Linked DNA regions of Homo sapiens: region 2 is linked to region 1. The links are contacts of gene promoters, found by promoter capture Hi-C in human tissues and cell types (Jung and others, 2019). All regions are on one chromosome and are shown on one strand. Each heading gives the region's core, a stretch centred on a gene start or on the middle of the fragment in contact. The rest is flanking DNA. Distances are from core to core; before and after follow the strand shown.

Region 1 (4,270 bases), core at 1,690-4,189:
ATATAGTGTGTAAGTAAAATGGGGTCTAATTTAATTGTAATGTAACATGTTGGCAAAAGCAAATGGGACGTTTCAGTAAAAAAGAACAGCTGAAGAGAAAGACCCTGTCATTACTTAGGCAGGACTCTCCTGGGAAAACACTGACCAATGCAGAAATCAGTTCTTATGACCAGAAATATTCCCAAAGACCATGTAAGAGCTGAGGATTTAGAGTCCAATTTTGGGGTTTAAATAGTAGCCTCAAATTCAATACCTCACTGTTCTTCTGTTTTTTCTTTTGTAAATAGGAATAATAGTAGAACCTATCAGTCTTCTTTGGTCACTGATATCTCCAGTGAATAAATGGTGGGTAGGTATATGGTAGGGGTTCAGTTAATACAAAAAGAGGATATTCATTATTGGTAAAATGAGAATCAAATCTGTAAGTTCTAAGAACAATATCTGACTGAAAATAAACACCTTCATCAATTTACCTGTCTCCTTCCTTTTTTAAACATTATCTTCATTATTAAACTTTATTAAATTGGGGGAAGTGTCCTTTAAAATTGTTAACTCCCTTGATTCCTGTAAAAAACATAATAAGGGAAATATTGATCTCTTGAATGTATTTATACACTAAGGGAGAACTTGAGAATTAACACTTACTCATTATGCAAAGAGTACATGGTACTCTTTTAAAAATTGCCCTTTTTTTATGTACAAATTCTTGCGATTGGTGTGACTCCATGAAGGCTGGATTCAGCAAAGCTGAAAACACTGCGTGGACCAGGAATGATTACTCTTTTTTTTCAGCTCATACCCATTTGTTCCCTTTGATCTACATATCTTCTACGATTTTGCTTCTCCTCTTCCCCATTCCTTTATCTCCTTCTTTACTGGGATGAATGTAGGAAAGTTGCATTTTGTCATCCTTTTTTTCCCAGTGAGATATTGTCTCTCTAGAGGATATTGTCACTCTAGAGAAAAGGGTGTTACTGACTGTGATAACTGCCTTGTGAGTGAGATGGTGCTGGGGAAAATAAAACTAACAAATTAACTTAGGATTAGAATCTCCTAGCCCAAGTGACCAGAAAAGAATCAGGATTCTTTTATCACATTTAGATACACATTTGTTTTCTTTCTATCTCCATTCTGTAGGATTTTTAAAATCACATTTAGATATACATTTTTCTTTTTGTCTCCATTCTTAAGGATTCAAAAAGAGACAACCTTTACTTTCAATGAAAATGAAAATGAGAAAGAAAGATCTCTGGTATCCTGCATGCTATGTAAACAATTGTACAACCCATTCATGCTATCACATTTACATTACACTATGGACATTTAGGACAAAAATGGTTTTCTTCAGTTTGAGGAGAATCAACTAGAATTGGAACCTCTGTGGGTTCTTTGGAAATCTGACCTTTCATGACAAATAATATTTTTAAAATCAAATTGATGACATTTTTCTCCATTGCATATACTCATTAAGTATAATATTGCTTCCAAGAATGTAAAAGTTATTTCTTGGGGCCCTCTAAAGTTCAACTCTGTCTGACAAAACTTTATTCCTTAGTATTTTTTTAATTGAGTTCTTGTTGTTGTTGTTTGTTTGTTTGCTTGCTTTTTGAGGCGGAGTCTCGCTCTGTTGCCAGGCTGGAGTGCAGTGGGGTGGTCTCGGCTCACTGCAACCTCCGACTCCCTGGTTCAAGCAATTCTCCTGCCTCAGCCTCCCGAGTAGCTGGGATTACAGGCACGTGCCACCACGCCCAGCTAATTTTTGTATTTTTAGTAGAGACGGGCTTTCACCATGTTGTCCAGGAGGGTCTTGATCTCCTGACCTTGTAATCCACCCACCTCAGCCTCCCAAAGTGCTGGGATTACAGATGTGAGCCACCGCGCCTGGCCTAATTTGGTTTTCTTGTAACATCAGAAGCATTGACCTTGAGTTCATGGAAGATACACAAAAGGTATACAAGATCAGTGCTACAAGCATATGGCAAATGGGTGGCTGTTATTGGAGGACTTTCCAAGATTTATTAGATGTCAAAGTCATATCATGTGAGGTGGCCTCTGTATACATATGAGCTGTCATTTGCTGTCTTGTGTATGTTGCTTATATTTGATCCTGAGCATTTATGACTGTGTTTTGAGTTTTGAGGTTTCAATAAAAATACTTTATCTTTTACTATTTAATTCTACTAAAGTTGTTCAACACATCAATAATTATGTCAAGCACTGAAGAGAAAAAGGTTTTTGACAATATCTAGATCAATATCTAGAAGCTAGTGAATTTTTTAAATTTCCCTATGAAGCAAAATTGAAAGTACCCTAAAAATAAATGTTACAAATAATTTCAATTTTAATAGTCTTTAGCTATTTTGAATTTTTAAATATTTCATTATACTAGGCAATATTATATATTTTCATAATTTGTTAATTTACTTATTTAATCTGACACACTACAATTTATATAAGTAAATAAATCACATTGTTACTTAAACAAATTGAACTATGAAGTTAAATATCCATAAATTGTAAATTTAATTATTAACTTTTACCTTAGAATTTTCATTTGCTCATTCTTAATCCGGGACTGAATAAATTCTATTTTACATTCTATTACGCTGCTTTTAAAGCATTAAAGAAGTACAATATTCTCTCTCGATAATGGGTACTGTAATGTATATACATCAGCCAACACATAGTATATCTGTGTTATTAAAATTTAATGGGATTTTTAGTTAGAAAAAAAATTTCTAAAAAGCATATGTGGCAGAGGAAGATGAGGTAATAATGTAAAAATAAATAAACTGAGAAACACTCCTGTACATCTATGTAGAAAGAGCATAAAAGAAAGCAAAAAGAGAAGTAGAAAGTAACACAAGGCATTCAGAAAATGGAAACTCGTATGTGACCTTTTTAAGATCTGTGCACAAAACAAGGTCTTCAGAGAAGAGCCCAAGGTTCAGGGTCACTCAATCTCAACAGCCCAGAAGCATCTGCAACCTCCCCAATGGCCTTGCCCTTTGTTTTACTGATGGCCCTGGTGGTGCTCAACTGCAAGTCAATCTGTTCTCTGGGCTGTGATCTGCCTCAGACCCACAGCCTGAGTAACAGGAGGACTTTGATGATAATGGCACAAATGGGAAGAATCTCTCCTTTCTCCTGCCTGAAGGACAGACATGACTTTGGATTTCCTCAGGAGGAGTTTGATGGCAACCAGTTCCAGAAGGCTCAAGCCATCTCTGTCCTCCATGAGATGATCCAGCAGACCTTCAATCTCTTCAGCACAAAGGACTCATCTGCTACTTGGGATGAGACACTTCTAGACAAATTCTACACTGAACTTTACCAGCAGCTGAATGACCTGGAAGCCTGTATGATGCAGGAGGTTGGAGTGGAAGACACTCCTCTGATGAATGTGGACTCTATCCTGACTGTGAGAAAATACTTTCAAAGAATCACCCTCTATCTGACAGAGAAGAAATACAGCCCTTGTGCATGGGAGGTTGTCAGAGCAGAAATCATGAGATCCTTCTCTTTATCAGCAAACTTGCAAGAAAGATTAAGGAGGAAGGAATGAAAACTGGTTCAACATCGAAATGATTCTCATTGACTAGTACACCATTTCACACTTCTTGAGTTCTGCCGTTTCAAATATTAATTTCTGCTATATCCATGACTTGAGTTGAATCAAAATTTTCAAACGTTTCACACGTGTTAAGCAACACTTCTTTAGCTCCACAGGGACAAAATCTTTACAGATGATCATGCCAATCTATCTATTCTATCTATTTATCTATCTGTCTGTCTTCTATCTAATCTATTTAAATATTTATTTATTTATAAGATTTAAATTATTTTAAATTATGTTTGTTCAGGTAATATTACATCCACCTTTACTTTGTGGCTAATATAATAAAATATGTTCTTTATGTTTTGTCAACTGATTATTTTGCTTTGTTCATTAGATTTTTACTATTAATTGTTTGTTTATTCTTTAAAATGAAACTCCAAGCCTGATTGTATAACTTGATTAAAAACAGATGGTACAGTTCAGTTACCTATCATTATTTTATTCAAATTTTAAGTAAAGGAAGATTTTTCTTAAGTGAACATAATAAATACAATTCCTGTTCCCTTGTATCTTTGATTTTTGCCAGAAATTTAACAACAATAATTATGATTAATATGAGTTATGTTAAATGCTATAATGTGAGCTAGGAAAAAAAACAGTGAATTGCTCTCAGCAGAACGCAGATAGAGGCACGTCCAGAAAGAAAAATAA
Region 2 (4,108 bases), core at 790-3,289, 1.3 Mb after region 1:
TTCCTGTTTTTAGATCTGACTGTTTTCACCATGGGCATTAATGATTGTGTTTTCAATCACTAGCATGAAGTTCAAGGCTCTGTTACTAGTGGTAATGGGAGATTTAATGGTAATATTCTCGAGGGACTAACATTTTCCTGGGAGAGAAGACATAGTTAGGGAATAGAACAGGACCACGAAATGCTCAATTATCTCCTGCACACTCTCAGACCAAGATGGGGTAGAACTCTGTGTGGGCTCTGCTTATCAGGTTTAGCTTCACGGAGGAGGAGATGTGGAATGAAGAATTAATGTGGCACGCTGCCCTGAACATAGTAGCAGGTACTCTATAAATGTTAACCGTGTTGAATGACTGCACATATTTAATGTTCGGAATGAATAACTTTCTAGTTTATGGTGTAAGCTGCTCAGAGGAAAAGTGAGCATCCATAGATGGTTATAAAATAAATTTTAGGAAAGACAAAAATTTAAAATAGCCATGAGCCCATTTTCTTGTGGTTTAGAGGAAAGATTTAACTGCCACATCAATGCTGTGAGTTTATATATTCTATTCTTTGGACAAAAGCTAAAGTTTTTAAAGTGTATTGATTTTTTAAATACAGTAAATAAATACTATTAAAGCTAGCATGTGGATATGCAGTATGTGAACGAAGCTCGGGAAATTCTGCTGGAAGTATTATAATATGATCCATTTTCAGATGCCCTGTGGATGGAAAGAATCATTCTGCTATGTGAGGCTCTGTGATCTTGGGCAACTGCATTCATCTTTCTGTACCTCATCTCCCTCATTTACTAAATAGGGTCAATTATGATGCTACCTTATGGGGTTGAAGGTTAATATCTATAAAGCGTACAGAGCACTTCTCTCTATGGGTTAAGGTTTGAGTAGAATAAGAATGAAAAAAATAAGGCTGACATTAGTTTGTTGGCTACCACTGACTGAGCCATGGTGGCACTAGATGTTTTGGTAGGACTTTGATAGCAAGAGTTAATCTACCCCACACTGATGAAAAATGATAGGTCGACAGATTGTCCTGCGGTTCCCAGGAAGGGATTCCCAGCTCTGACATTCACACCCTTGTGGGTTATTTAAGGTCACAAGTACATTTACTGTATGATCAGAGAAACCACATACTTGTGCAGCTGGGAGCATATTTCTGCCAATGTGCAGAGGACTGATGTGATGCTACTAACAGTGGCATGAGTGATTTTTTCCTATGAGATGAGTAAGTACCCAGTCAACTGAGATGAATTTAATCTGAACCTATGCTCCAGTGAAGTCCAAGATTCCCCAGATTCTTGCAGAAGCACATAAAATAATTAATCAAATCTTATCTCAGATGTTTTTAATCAGTTAATGAACAGTTTATTTCAGTGGTTCCAAAGACTAGCCAATTTGAATGGAACGGTAAATTGTTTGTATATAAAATGATTTGGTTTCACCCAGAGGTAGATATATTTTAGTTCTCATCCACATTGCATTTTCAACTCATGATGCATAGCCATCAGTTTTAGAATTGTAAAAATATCTTCAATAAGCAACACATAGCAAGCAAACAGACATGGTGGAAAATACAGAAATGCTGTCATCAAAGATCTGCTGCTGAAGAAAATAAGCCCCAAACCTCTACCTCTAGGTATTCCTCTTGAGCCTCAGACCTATATGACCAAGCCTATTGGACATCCCCCCGGTATATACAGAGTTGTTCTCTTGGAGATTCTCAATACACAAAGCTTTTAAAGATGTTGACAAGTCCTGTATTAAACAATGCTGTTTAATCCAATCATGTATGATAACATGCCCCTTTTTAAGTGATAACATTAATATTTCTATTTCCTAGAGGACAGAATAAGACATGCTGCCCCAACATAGATGGTTGAAGCATACCATTCACTCATTCAGCAGTCTAAAAACTTGGGTGACTTACTTTACTTCTCCTTTTCCCTCATCCATCCAGTCCCCAAGTCCTGTTGCTTTTACCTGGGAAATGTCTCTAGGGTCTCTGCCCTCCTCTCCATCTCCACTGTCAAGACTCAGTTTAAGTCTTGCTCATGTCTATTTTGAATGTCTAGACTGTTCTCCCTGCTTTCAGTTTCTCTCCTCTATAATCAACCACTGACTTATTTTCCGAAAAATAAATCTCATCATATTGCTTTTTCACTTAAAACCTCTCCTGTCTCCCCATTGCCCATACAATGAGTGAAAATTATTACCACAGACTAATTCTTAGGACAGTATAGGATGGTAGTTATAAGCATAGCATTTGGAACCAAATACAGTAGTCCTGCCTTATATATGGTAGATATGTTTCAAGGCACCCAGAGAATTCCTGAAACCATGGATAGTATTTGTGATGGTTAATATTGTCAACTTGATTGGATTGAAGGATGCAAAGTATTGTTCCCGGGTGTGTCTGTGAGGTGTTGCCAAAGGAGATTAACATTTGAATCAGTGGACTGGGAGAGGCAGACCCACCTTCAATCTGGGTAGGCACCATCTAATCAGCAGCTAGGATAAAAGCAGGCAGAAGAACATGGAAGGACTAGACTGGCTGAGTCTTCTGGCCTTTGTCTTTCTCCCATGCTGGATGCTTCCTGCCCTCGAACATCAGACTCCAAGTTCTTCAGCTTTTGGACTCTTGGACTTACACCAGTGGCTTGCTAGGGGCTCTTGGGCCTTCAGCCACAGACTGAAGGCTGCACTGTCGGCTTCCTTACTTTTGAGGTTTTGGGTCTTGGACTGGCTTCCTTGCTCCTCAGCTTGCAGATGGCCTATTGTGGGACTTCACCTTGTGATCCTGTGAGTCAATACTCCTTAATAAACTCCTTTTCATATATGTATGTATGTATGTATGTATGTATGTATGTGTGTATATATGTGTGTGTGTATGTATATATGTATACACACATATATAATACATACATATACATACATATATAGTATATATAATACATACATATACATACATATATATATATATCCTATTAGTCCTGTCCCTCTAGAGAACCCTAATACAGCACGGAACCCTATTGATACTATTTTTTTTTTTTTGATAACCAAGACAGCTACTAGGTAACAATAGGCAGGTAGCATATTCAACGTGGATCCACTGGATAAAGCGATGACTTATGTCCTGGGCAGGATGGATGGAGAGGGCCAGCATAAGATTTCATTATGCTACTCAGAATGACATGCAATTTAAGGTATATGAATTGTTTATGGAATTTTTCATTTGATATTTTCTTTTTCTTTTCCTTTTTTTTTTTTGTTTTGTTTTTTTTTTTTTGTTTTTTTAGGTGGAGTCTTGCTCTGTCGCCAGGCTGGAGTGCAGTGGTGTGATCTCTTCTCACTGCAACCTCTGCCTCCCAGGTTCAAGTGATTCCCCTGCCTCATCCTCCCAAGTAGCTGGGACTACAGGTGCCCGCCACCATGCCCGGCTAATTTTTTTGTATTTTAGTAGAGACGGGGTTTCACCATGTTGGCCAGGATGGTCTCGAACTCTTGACCTCGTGATCCACCCACCTTGGCCTCCCAAAGTGCAGGGATTAGAGGTACGAGCCACCGTGCCCAGCCTCATTTGATATCTTCTGACCGTAGGTGACCATGGGTAACCTAAACCATGGAAAGCAAAACCATGGATAAGGGGGAGACTACTACAGTTTTGTATAGGCCCTAAGACACTGATTTAATCCTCCTAAGCCCCAGTTTCCTCATCTATAAAATGGGCATAATTATGTTACAAATTTTACAGGATTATGGTGATGATTAAATGAGATAATGCAGGCACAACACTTAACACAATACCTAAAATATTGAAAATGTTTATAATTTTAGTCATTCTTTTAGTCTTATACATAACTCTAAAGAACTGAGCCCTAGCTCACCAGTCTCATCATTTCACAGCCTTTTCCCAGCCACCTATGTTTTAGCCACAGGAAATTCTAACTTTTCTCTGACATTCTAGGCACTTACCTGTCTCTATGATTTTGTGCTGTCCATTCCCTCTCTGCATAGTGCTATTACCTGCTTCTATAGTGGAAATGTCCTCACTCCAAGAGACCATTATGCAGCTTGAAAGAACTTATCGTTACAAAGCCCATGCACTTT

The links. Contacts are between HindIII fragments. The study calls those that stand out against the background at their distance.
Region 2: a contact is called between a fragment that was not itself captured here and the fragment with the promoter of IFNA5 in region 1, in 1 of the 25 tissues and cell types used here (lymphoblastoid cells).

What each region holds. Positions count from the first base shown.
Region 1 is chr9:21,303,982-21,308,251 of GRCh38, reverse strand. It overlaps IFNA5 (interferon alpha 5), which reads left to right and starts at 2,939. Exons shown (of 1, transcript NM_002169.3): 1 at 2,939-3,926. The coding sequence starts at 2,996. The coding sequence ends at 3,565. All of the region lies in intron 2 of LOC107987053 (a long non-coding RNA gene), which reads right to left. The HindIII fragment of the contact is 6,884 bases long and covers 1-4,270 here.
Region 2 is chr9:19,989,796-19,993,903 of GRCh38, reverse strand. It overlaps a transcript of SLC24A2 not described here. Among named protein-coding and RNA genes, the nearest start is that of SLC24A2, 200 kb to the right of the region's middle. The HindIII fragment of the contact is 5,775 bases long and covers 1-4,108 here.